Regions from separate parts of the Homo sapiens genome. Here regions 2 and 3 are each linked to region 1. The links are contacts of gene promoters, found by promoter capture Hi-C in blood cells and fetal thymus (Javierre and others, 2016). All regions are on one chromosome and are shown on one strand. Each heading gives the region's core, a stretch centred on a gene start or on the middle of the fragment in contact. The rest is flanking DNA. Distances are from core to core; before and after follow the strand shown. Region 1 holds the start of LDB2 (LIM domain binding 2). Region 2 overlaps LOC124900674 (a long non-coding RNA gene). Region 3 has its middle 62 kb from the start of QDPR.

The links. The method cuts DNA at HindIII sites, captures the fragments that hold promoters and counts their contacts. A CHiCAGO score of 5 or more calls a contact.
Region 2: a contact is called between a fragment that was not itself captured here and the fragment with the promoter of LDB2 in region 1, in 1 of 17 cell types (M0 macrophages). The highest score is 5.5, in M0 macrophages.
Region 3: a fragment that was not itself captured here is called in contact with the fragment with the promoter of LDB2 in region 1 in 2 of 17 cell types (endothelial precursors and naive CD4 T cells); the score reaches 6.1 in endothelial precursors.

Annotation. Positions count from the first base shown.
Region 1 is chr4:16,896,308-16,900,364 of GRCh38, reverse strand. It overlaps LDB2 (LIM domain binding 2), which reads left to right and starts at 1,720. Exons shown (of 8, transcript NM_001290.5): 1 at 1,720-2,011. The coding sequence starts at 1,880. The HindIII fragment of the contact is 2,891 bases long and covers 1,283-4,057 here.
Region 2 is chr4:16,292,781-16,296,837 of GRCh38, reverse strand. All of the region lies in intron 2 of LOC124900674 (a long non-coding RNA gene), which reads right to left. Among named protein-coding and RNA genes, the nearest start is that of TAPT1-AS1, 68 kb to the right of the region's middle. The HindIII fragment of the contact is 787 bases long and covers 1,436-2,222 here.
Region 3 is chr4:17,447,916-17,451,972 of GRCh38, reverse strand. No RefSeq gene overlaps it. Among named protein-coding and RNA genes, the nearest start is that of QDPR, 62 kb to the left of the region's middle. The HindIII fragment of the contact is 7,832 bases long and covers 1-4,057 here.

The DNA of each region.
Region 1 (4,057 bases), core at 471-2,970:
ACAAACCTTGCAGCAAATTTGGTCCAGCTTTCGGATTTGTAATGAAACCTGAAACCAAGCATTCTCGCCTGCCTTGGGGTCTCCTAGCGCAAGTTCCAAGCAGCCTTAGTGTAATACCTACCCTAATCTCATCCTGGGAAGCGACATTAGTGTGTTAGGCTGCGCTGCTGGAAGTTTGGGGTGGACTCAGCAAATATTTCATGCAATTATGAAGAAGGACTGATCAAGACAGCAATACACTTTTCTGTGTCTGAGTATTTTTAAGAGTGTAAATTGCAGAATTAGCAATACTCTATCCCCTGTTGGCTAGTGACTTGGAGATACCCAAGCCATGATTGGGGCAGAAAGTTAATTAATCTGCTTATTAAAAAGAAGAAATGTCTCATTTGCATGCATTTGCATTCAGGTCTTGAATTCATTATGCTTTTTGGTGGTCCTTTGCTTTATTTCCTTAATACCACTGACCTACCTAGGTGTTAGCTCAATACATTTAAATTTTGTGTGGCTGGGCTTTGTTTAAGTGTCGTATCTCTGGTTATAGTGGGTTCTAGCAGAATTTGATTATTTTATAGATTGTTTAATTCTCTATAGAGATTTTCCCCTTCCATGGGCTGTTGGGATTTCTTATGGTTATCATATACCACAGTTGGGAAAATATTTGTTTACTTGACCAATCTTGGAAAATACAGACTTTGTCTCCATAAGAGTTGGACATGTTATCTGGGGATGATCCATTCAATTATTTGCAATTTCCTTCTCAACCAAATTTTCCGTGGTCATTTTTGTGGCAGTTTTCTCCTTCTTTGCTTTTCCTGTCTTATTGGGAGGTCTGTTTGGGTTTTTTGTTTGTTTGTTTGTTTGTTTTTCCTTCCTGGGAAAAAAGACCATTGCTCTCCTTAAGTGTATTTTATACCTTCCACATTCAGAACGACTGTTTTTACCTGAAAATGCCCAGGCACCTTAAGGGCCTGAATGAAGTCTTTGGAGAAGAGGGAGGTGGCTGGGAAGAGGGGTGAGTGGGGAGAGATGGGAGTGAGATGGAGTGGAGGGCAAAGAATATAACAGCCCTTGGAACAACAGCAAGTAAAGCAAAACTACATAGGGAGATTAGTGCTGAAATAAATCTCTGCATGTGAGTGAATCACCGGTCCCAATTCGGGGCACCACAGTGCCCGTGTTTCTGTATTTTGTAGTAATCAACATTTCTGATACATTACAACAGTGTGGTTGTCAGGGGTGAGCGGCTCATGTAGCGGTTAGACCACCTCTATGCTAACAAGCTTAGCAATCAGGTTGTGAAGGGTCCTGGCTGGAGGAAAAAAATTAAAACCAAACCTTAGACCTCTTGTCAGACTGTGAGGAGAATTATATTTGTGAACTAGTCTACAATGTGGACAGGAAATGACCTCTCCACAAACTGCTTCTTTAAAAACAAGCAGTGGTGCCTAAAGCTATCCAGCTCCTCTCTCTCTCTCTCTCTCTCTCTCTCTCTCTCTCTCTCTCTCTCTCTCTCTCTCTCTCTCTCTCCCCCTCCCTCCCTCCCTCCTCCCTCCCTCCCTCCCTCCCTTCTTCCCTCCCTTCCTCCATACCAACCTCCCTCCCTCTCTGGAGCTCCTGCTCTCTCCCTCTCCCTCCTCTCCCGTGCTCCCTCCCTCCCTCCCTCTTTCCCTCCCTCCTCTCCTCTCCCTCTCCTCTCCTGCTATAGAGGGCTCCGACAGCAGTTCCCAGCCAGCGTGTTCAGCCTGCCTGCCTGCCTGCCTCTGTGTGTGTGTGAGCGTGTGTGCGTGCGTCTACTTTGTACTGGGAAGAACACAGCCCATGTGCTCTGCATGGACGTTACTGATACTCTGTTTAGCTTGATTTTCGAAAAGCAGGCAAGATGTCCAGCACACCACATGACCCCTTCTATTCTTCTCCTTTCGGCCCATTTTATAGGAGGCATACACCATACATGGTACAGCCAGAGTACCGAATCTATGAGATGAACAAGAGACTGCAGTCTCGCACAGAGGTAAGTACTTCAACCTTGGGGATGTGTTTGTGTATTTTTGTTAAGCTATGCATGAGCTTTTCCTAGGGTTTCTGGCTGAATTCTATGGGAAGTGTCCCACTTGATACTACCACGTACGTGGAAATGAGCGCCAGGATGAATCCACGAGTTTGGACGCTGGGTTTCCAGGCACAGCAACTCTTGTAGCAGAGGACAGTTTCTGCCGGAATCTTGAGACAACCCAGCACTTGATTCACATGCCGGGTTTCCAGAAATGTTGCTCTTCCAGAACTCTGGTGTTTTACAGGCTCTGAGTCAGTCCTGTTGGTGTTTCTTGAGATATAATTCCAAGGAATTTTGTGATTGTTTGCATCTGGCTATATATATATATACATATGTGTATATATATATATATATATATATATATACATATGTGTATATATATATATATATATATATATATATATATATATATATATTTTCTTTTTTACAAATCCTAGAGGAAGTCTGCTTTGACCTGTATTTACTTTTCAGAGTCACCAAAATCGAGGTAAAAAGGGGCAGAAGAGTAAACCTGCCTACTTCTCAGAACTAGCCCTGGAGGGACACATGTTTGTATATTTCAGTGTTAAAATCAGAAACCAGTTGCTTGGGGCAAGGGGACTCTAGACTTTCTCCTATTGCTGTCGGCCGTGCCCCCCTATCACTCTACCTTAGGACAGGAGCTGGTTCAGCTTTCAAGTCAGCTCTAGTTTTTGCATATTTGAGATCTTGTGCCTGAGAGAGGGAGACTCAGCCTCCTAGGCAGCCAGCAACTCTGGGAGCAGAGAGAACAGGACTTTCAGAACTTTTTAAATGCAAAACTCCAGACTCGCCTCCTGCAATTTAAATATTTTATGTCAGTTGACTTTTTCTCTGTGCTAGCTCAGCTGGCAGGTCTTGCTGCTGGATTGTCCATCTGCCTGTAAGTTGGGGCTTTGTGTGGAAGTGTTCGGAAAAGGAGTTTGTTATAGGTGCACCAAAGTCACTTTAGGAAGTGGAAATTGCTAGGAATTTAGTCTTCTCTGCAGAGTATAAATACCACAAGATTTATGCCAAAGAGCTTTTAGGGAATAGCTCTGGTGGAATTTTAGATTGAAGATTGACTTTTAACTCTAGGAAGGGACTCCATTAAGTTTGTGCTATGGGATAAAACACAGTTGGCTTGAATTGTCAACAGAGCCATAGAGAATTCATGACGTTTCGTGTATTTAATACAGCTAACAAGATGTGACCTGCTTTCTGATTGGCTAACTGCTGGACAAGGACTTATATGTATTTTAAAAGCTGGGTTGTCTTTAATGACTGCTGTTTTCTTTATATGTTAATACACCATAGACGCTAAATATGACTGCTGGTACTCTTGCTCTTTCTAGAAGCCAGTAGCTTCTATAGAAGTGCAAACTATGTTTTGCTTAGGATAGTGAACTGTTGGCAGTGACTGATATTTGTGCTTGCTGTTTTGTGTATGTTGCTTTGTGTGTGTAACAGTTTGTATATTTCCTTCAGATCTTTGCAACTGTGTGTTGGAATCTTAAATCTCTGCATAAACCATTGGTTGACACAGGCTGCTTTCATAATTAGGAGGATAGAAAATGTCTTATAGTTCAGGCACACATTAATTGCAATACAAATTTGGAAAAAATAGTCTTTTAAAAGTATGATTAGTTATAAAAAAAGAGGCCAGGGACCATTATGGCTCAATTCTTGAACAGCAACAATATTTAAAAATGACCTGTCCACCTTACATTTTAGAAAGTTTTTGAGGAATTGCAGAGATTCTTCTCCATCCTCCTGCAGTTAGGAACACAGGCAGCTTTCTCTGATATCTGCCTGCCCTCCTGCCCATTACTGAGCACTTGGCCAGGTCTGAGCTAGGAGACTTATCTGCAAGATTTCCCTACTCTTGCCCTCATTAAAAAAAACTGCAGGATTCAATATGGTCCCAGGTTTGTTTCCCATTTGAGACAAGACATTTGAAAAGACCTCCTTTCGCAGTATGCTTTGCAAAGATGGTACATTATTTTT
Region 2 (4,057 bases), core at 580-3,079, 600 kb after region 1:
TTAAGCTGGCAGCTTGTTGTGCAATCACACTTCCCTGATGATTCCAGGAAAAGTCACTGATTTTCAATTTGTCCAGCTTTTCTTTTAAAGACGGGAATGATGGCTTCCTAGCTGTTTACATGCTTGAGCTAAAACTCAAAGTCCCTACTTAATGTTTTATATTTTCAAAATGTGCTTTTTTATTTTAATGGATTCTATTGAACATTCCTTATCCACAGAAATCTTCTTGAGTCTTATTTTGTTGTATTTTGTGATCGCCGTGACTCTGAAACTACTTTTTTCTTTTTTTTTTTGACAGAGTTTCACTCTTGCTGCCCAGGCTGGAGTGCAATGGTGCAATCCTGGCTCACTGCAACCTCCGTCTTCTGGGTTCAAGCAATTCTCCTGCCTCAGCCTCCCAAGTAGCTGGGATTACAGGCATGTGCCACCATGCCTGGCTAATTTTTGTATTTTTAGTAGAGACAGGGTTTCACCTTGTTGGTCAGGCTGGTCTTGAACTCCTGACCTCAGGTGATCCACCCACTTTGGCCTCCCAAAGTGCTGGGATTCAGGGGTGAGCCACCACACCCGGCCAACTCTGAAAGTTCTAAGCAGCAGACTTTTCCTAGCTCTGCAAAGAAATAACCAAAGAGCTCTTGGCCTCTAGCTAGACCACATACCTCTTGTTGCCTAGCTTGGAATTCCACACTGCTGCCCACTCCCTTTTGGAACCCATAGAACACTTACATGCAACATGCATCCTGGAAGTAAAAGAGAGTGGTGACCAGGGGACCATCTTTGACTAATGGAAGGAAAGAAGCCGATGGATAAATGTTTTTCTCTTTCATCTCCCAGGGACATAAGGATTTCAAAAGGCCCTCAGAACATCCTGGTGAGACCGAACTCCCACCCTCGCAGCAGAGGCCAGTTCAACAACTCATTCTTGTATCTGCTTCCTGATCTACTCCCAAATTTCTGCTCCCTGAAATCATTTTCCAGAGGATTAGCCCATATGAGAACCTTCGTCTTGGGCTTTGCTTTTGGAGAACCCAGGCTAAGATATAAGATTATTTAAAAGAAAAAATTTATAACATGTCTATAAATGGATAAAAACAGCCATTTGCCATTACAAAGATGAATTCTTCCCTTCCATGACTTTCCAAAACTTCTTTGCCTGTAAATATCTATTCCTCTTAGCTCATTCTTCCCATCCTTCTGCATTTTGATAGCACATTATCAGTTGCATAAAATTATCTGTTCTTACCCACCTCCCTCTATATTTTGAGAAATTTAGAAGATAAGAAAAGAAAAGAAAATGATGCCATTAAGGACTATTCCTTATACTCTTATGTTAACAAAAGATTAGCAAGTGTTGAAAGCAGTACTCAAAGTGTGGTTTATGGACAGATTATTGGCCTACAAACTGCTTTTTTAGTTTACAAACACTTAATAAGCTTGCTCCAAATGTAAATTAACTAAATCACTATATACAATATTACAACTGACATTAAAAACAAATTTATGACTTCTTCAATGAAGAAAGCAAGGCATTGATTTACATTGCTGTGTCAGACTCCTGATCTCAAGAAGTACTGTCTCTTTGAGTAACACTGGATTACAGGATTAGACAGTTATCAAAGTACTAACGGTGGACATTTCTTAGTATGCACTCAGTTCTAAGCACTCTTTCATAGGCCCTACTGATATTACCTCATTTAATTCTCAAAAAAAAACCTTGCATATGAGGTAGGTTATATTATTATTCTCACTTTATAGGTAGAGAGACTGACGCACAGTGAAGTTTAATAATTTTCCCAACATTACAGAGCTAGTAAGTGGTAGTGGCAGCCTCCCAGGTGACTGACCCCCAGTGGTCTTTGCCTCTTGGTATTTACTCCCTTGTGTAGTCAGCTCCCATAGTGTATTTGTGACCAAAGCACACACAAGTGATATTGTGTGATTTTCAAGGATAGATCATAACAGATATTGTTCCTTTTGCCTTGCTCTCTGGCATCAGCTACTTCAAGGAAGCCAGCTTCCACGTCATGACAACATTCATGCAGCACTATGGAAAGGCAAGAAACTGAGGCCTCTGTCAGCAGCCAGCACCAACTTGCAAGCCATGGGAGGGGGCATTCTTGGAAGAGAATCCTCCTGCTCACTCAAGTCTTCAGATGACTCCAGCTCTGGCTAACATCATGACTATGATCTCATGAGAGATGCTGAGTCAGAACCACCAAGCTTAGACACTTCTTCATTCCTGACCCACATGATATGTGCAAGATAATAAATTTTTATTGGTGTCTTCCATCTCTAAGTTTGGGGCTAGTTTCATATCCAACAATAGATAACTAAAATAGCAGTAGAAAATCTGGCTCCAGAGCCTGTTTTGTTAACTGCTATGTGTACTATCTCTCAACTGAGAGTTTATCTTGGGTATATGAAGAAGGATTAAAACAGAATTGAAGGTAGAGAAGGAAATGACTTCCTTCCTATGTGATGTTATTTAATGCCAATATTGTGTACCAGCTACCCAGCTACCATCGTCTCCACTAACACCAGCAGCATGCATTCAAAACTCTAAGAGAAGAAGAGTAGACAAGAGAGTATGGGATTTGAAAGAAGATAGTCCGGAATTGAATCCCAGTTCAGTTCCTTCACTCATTTTGGGTATTCCAAAAAAGAGGCCATAATAACCAGTGAGAAAAACAACTTGTAAAGCCCAGTCTCTCTGAGCACAGCTGAGAGCTGGCTATATATATTTATTTGGGATGTATGGAGTTCAGGGATTCATGGAATTTCTCAGAAGTAGGGGTACTTACAGATTGGGTAATATTTAGCTGTATGCCTGAGTGACAGTCTTGCTGATTGGATGACTTTCAGCAGTGTTTGTGCTGATGCAAAATAGCTAATGACCAATTAGGAAAAGTTTAAAACCATGTCTGGCAATTGTTTCAAGGCCAAAGAACAATGAGCCCTTTCCTAAGAAGATAGGAACTTTCTGTTCTTCCTTAAGCCATTTCCCTTCAATGTTCTTACCTGTAAAATGGGGAGAATACAGACAACTATTTATCAAGGGCCTACTATGATACTTGCCACACGCTAATCAACTCAGCCATTGTATGGCAGCAGCTGCCATAAACCATAAGTACACAAATGTATGTGGCTGTATTCCAATAAAACTTTATTTACAAAAATAGGCAGCAGGCAGGATGTGGCCAGTGGGCAGTAGTCTGCCAGTTCTGCTCCAGGTTATCTTTAGTCCCAGCTGTGGCCTGCTCTTCTGCCTCTCCTAGCTTCTAGCTCTGCTGTCCCATTGATCTGTATTACACTTTCCCCTTTCCTTAAATGCTTTTCTTCTACTGATGTGTTAGCTTTCAGTAAAGCATTACCTCATCAGGAGAAAGTGCTGTCCACACCTTTAGACTATTACAGGCCCCCCTGCTGTGTGCTCCCAAATGCATTTCCTCTTTCGCCACCTTCATCTCACTTTGTTATAATTATTTATTTCCATGTCTTTCTTCCCTGCTAAACTGTGAGCTCTGTGAAAGCAGGGATTGTTTGTCTCCCATGCCATTTGATCACAGGGCTTAGCACAATTCCTGACACATAGTAGGCATTTGGTAAATACAAAGGAAAAGAATGAATAAGCACGATTTTACAGAGAACATCTAAGATAAACTTTGGCTACTGTACACTTGTGTCTACCTATTTTACAATTTTTCCTAAAACCACCTTGTTCCCAAGAAATGGATTCTTCACTTCATATATTTTCAAGCTCACAGGCCATTTTGCCTCTATTTTACAGCGTAAGAATTTTGAAATGAGGAAACATCAGTGAAATCCATGTTTAAGGCACTTTTATTCTCATGCCACTATTTCCCTGCAATGGTGACCTTTAAATTTAGCCTGAGTATAAGTGGGGTTGTCAGAACATCAGGTTACATTATGTTATTCAGCTATTTGTGCCTTTTAAAGACGATGTAAGTTCCAACATAGACCGCACAGCGGGAAAGTTACCCTGATGATATTCTGGAAACTGCCGCAGCCAGGATCACATCCGGAAGTGGGTCAGTAT
Region 3 (4,057 bases), core at 901-3,400, 550 kb before region 1:
AAATCCTGTCATTTGCGGCAACATGGATGGAACTGGAGGAAATTATGTTGTTAAGTACAAGTCAGGAACAGAAAGTTAAACACCACATATTCTCAGTCATATGTGGAAGCTAAAAAATAGTTGATCTCATAGAAGTAAGAAATAGAACAGAGGAGACTAGAAGGTGGGAAGCGTAAAGAGAAAGGGGGATAGGAAGAGATTGGTTAAGGTTATAAAATTACAGTTAGATAGGAGGCATAAGTTCTAGTTTACCACAGCACTGTAGAATGACTATAGTTAACAATAATTTATATAGTTTCAAATAGCTAGAAAGAGAGCATTGAATGTTCCTGATACAGAATTGCTGGGTCCTGGCTAACCTCCACCCTCAAGCCTGGAACCTGGGCCCTAAGTGAAAGCAGCTGACCTCATTTTTTCTGCTCAAATAATTGCCTTTTTGGCCCTCCCCACCCCCATCCTGTGCCCATAAAAAGACTTCGTCTGGCAGAGCAACACAAGTGGCTGGTGCAAGTGGTTGGGGATGCAAGCTGCTGAGCCTCGGAGATACAAGTTGGTGAACTTTGGGGATACAAGCAGCTGAGCATCAGAGACTATGGAGACGCAGTTAACTTCAGATGGTTCAGTTTCAGGGAAAGATCATCTTCTTCCCATACCACCCCCTTTCCAATTCCCCATCCCACTGAGTGCCACTTTTATCACCCAGTAAAATCCTCCACATACACTACCCTTCAAATAGTTCATGTGACCTGATTCTTCCTGGATACCGAACAAGAACTCAGGTGTCAAAAAGGACAGGTGCAGGAGGCTATCACTCTGACCCTTCACTGAGCTGCTAACAGTTAGCCATCCATGGACTGCAGGCTGAGTGAAATGAGCCACTCCAGTTCCTGCCCACAAAGGGGGTCGAGGTCAAGGAAACAATCCCATCTCAGTCCCAACACAAAAAAAAGATAAATGTTTGCCATGATGGTTATATTAATTGCCCTGATCTGATCACTATGCCTTACATATGTATTGCAATATCACTAAGTATGCCATACATATGTACAATTATGTGTCAATTAAAAAAATTAAAAATAAATAACTAAAAAGAAAAAGAGCTGATGTTTCAGTATGAGTCTTAAGGCCTGAAAAGACCAATGTCCTGGCTCAAGGCAGTTAAGCAGGAGAAGTTTCCCTTTATTCAGACTTTTTGTCCTGTTAAGGTCTTCATTTGATTGGATGGGGTCCTCCCACATTAGGGAAGGCAATCTTCTTTTCTTAGTGTACTGATTCAAATGTTAATCTCATCCAGAAACACCCTCACAGACACACCCAGTATAACGTTTGACCAGATATCTGGGCATCTAATGGCCCAGGCAAACTGACACATAAAATTAACCATCACAATGGATTATCCACAAAAGGGCAGCTATCTCCCTAAGGGGAATTCAGCTCTAGCTTTTGAAGTTTTTTTTCCTCTTTGTCACATGCATTATCCTATGTAGATCTGGTCATTCATTTATTCATCAAGGACCTCCTGAGAGCCTGCTGTGTGCCAGACACTACTTTGGATACTGGGGAGACAGTGAACAAAGTAGACTTATTGTGTAAAAAAAGTACACACTGGCAGTATCCTAATTTTGTGTAAATGGCTTCTGAAAATGTGCATAAAATAAAATGTAAGAAAATCTAAACAATAGGCTTATCTAGTATTAAGGGAGGGTTCATTCAGAAAAAAGCTAAGAAATATTATAAAACTTCTATTTATATCTTGCCTTTTAGTCATAATTTTGACAACAGATTCCCAACTTTTCAGAATATTTCTAAATTTGTTTTGATTGTTGTCTTTCTATGAGTGAACACACAATTGCTCTTGTTAAGCCCCATGAGTGTGTGTTTGAAGCTAAAGATGCGTCATTTTAGACACATATAATGGTCTCCATCTCTATCTCACTTCTAATAGGTTTGTGATATTTACAGTTCTTATCAGGTATTAGGGTTTTTATTTTTTAGGTTTTCACTTACTATACGACATAAGGACCAACGCTCTGCAACTTTACTAAAGAAAATAAATAATCTTTATACACTGATTACTTAGTTATGGGCATTTTGTTAAGTGCCTTATGAATATTATCTTTTTAAATCCTGGGATAGGAGTACATCCCTGGACCATTTATAGAACTGCATTCTGTTCAATGAGTTATTACAGAGAAAGGGAAGTGGATGAAGTTGAAAAGATCATCATGCCATAATGGATAGTACACAAAAGACATAATTAGCATGAAAAAAATTCAGCTTATTCAAATAGAACTGTAGTTACTCTAATGAATAAATGATCCCTTGATTATACTTTCAAGTAATACCAAGTCTAAAAATGGTTGTTAAACCAACAACTTCTAAGTTTTAATTGATTTGGAATGAATATGTGGGCCTCCATTATCATAAGCCAGACCAATGTAGTTGAGATGCCCATTTTCCCACTATTCCTAGCCCTGAACTTGGCTAAACTGCTCAACTCTTTGAGCCTCAGTTTATTTTTCTGCAAAATGGGAGCAATCGTAAGAACGTCAAAGGATGCGAAAAGGATAAAGTAATTTATCCTTTAATAAAGGATAAAATAAAGTTTAATAAATAAAATAAAAGAACATACAGTTTGGAACTTGGAACATCATAGTTGTTTGAAAAATATTTGGGCTTCTATTTCCTGCAGTCAGGTATATTCTAAGTATTCAATGAATATTTGTTGGAGGTGTTGAATTCCAATATCTATAAGCAAAGAGAAGTATTATATTAAAATAAAATTAGTTATTGAATTTGGTGTTAAATAGTTTAGTCTAGAGCTGCCTCTTTACATATTTTAAGTTCAGCCTAAAGATTTCTCTGTACATCATGAACTATAACCTAAACGGAGATATAAACAGACTGTAACCTACTCTTGTGCCAATCACCGAGTTTTGGCCAGTCAAAGGGTGCCAACTGTTCAAACCGTGTTCAAATAAGGTAAATGCCTGAGCTGTCACCAGTCCAGCTGTTTGTATACCTCACTTCTGTTTCCTGTGTGTCACTTTCCTTTTTCTGTTCATAAATCTTCTTCCACCCTATGGCTGCTCTGGACTCTCTGAGCCTACTCTGGCTCTGGAGGCTGGCTGATTCATGAATCATTCTTGCTCAATTCAACTGTTACATTTACTTTGGCTAAGGTTTTTCTTCTAACATTGGAAAGAAAGCTGAAACCTTTCAAACTTTACTCTTGAATCTTCTTTTCCTTGTCAGGGAACTCTTCAAGGGTGGATGTCCTGGAATGGCCAATTATTTGTCTAAATGCTTTGTTTCTTTCCTAACCAATTAGGCTAAAACACCTCTGGTAAACAAATAGGCATACAGGCCCCCCGCCCTCACCACCCCATAAATAAGACTGTAGGTGAGAAAGGCAGGGAGGCTGCACTTTCCCCTTCTGATCTGTGCAGGGGAGGTTTCTGCTTCAGGGGATGTGGAGGAGACTGGTCCTGGCTTAGTCTTCTTAGGTAAATCTTTGGCGGGAGCAGCAAGCTGCCCCTTCTAATCTGCCTTCCAAGTGCATGTAGTGGTTCATGGCACTGCTTTACAAGAGGGATGGGTTTGATGGGTGGAGCACTTGCACATTTTTAACTTATAAAAGTCCTTGTGAGCCAGGCACAGTGCCTCATGCCTGTAATCCCAGAACACTGGGAGGCTGAAGTGGGAGGATCACTTGAGGCCAGGAGTTGGAGACCAGCCTGGGCAATATAGTGAGACTCTGTTTCCACCAAAAAAAAAAAAAAAAAAAAAGAAAAAAAAGAAAAAAAAATTAGCTGGGTGGTGGCACACACCTGGAGTGTTAGCTACTCAACAGGCTGAGGTTGGTGAATTGCTCAAACCTAAGAGGTTGAGGCTTCAGTGAAGTTGGTTATGATTGTACCACTGGGCATCCAAGTCTGGGCAACAGAGAGAGACCCTGTGTCCAAAAAACAACAACAAAAAAGTTATTGTGAAACCCTTAGAAGAGACAGTACCAGAGCTTATCAGTATCTGGTTTTTCTTTCCTTTCTGGGTCCAC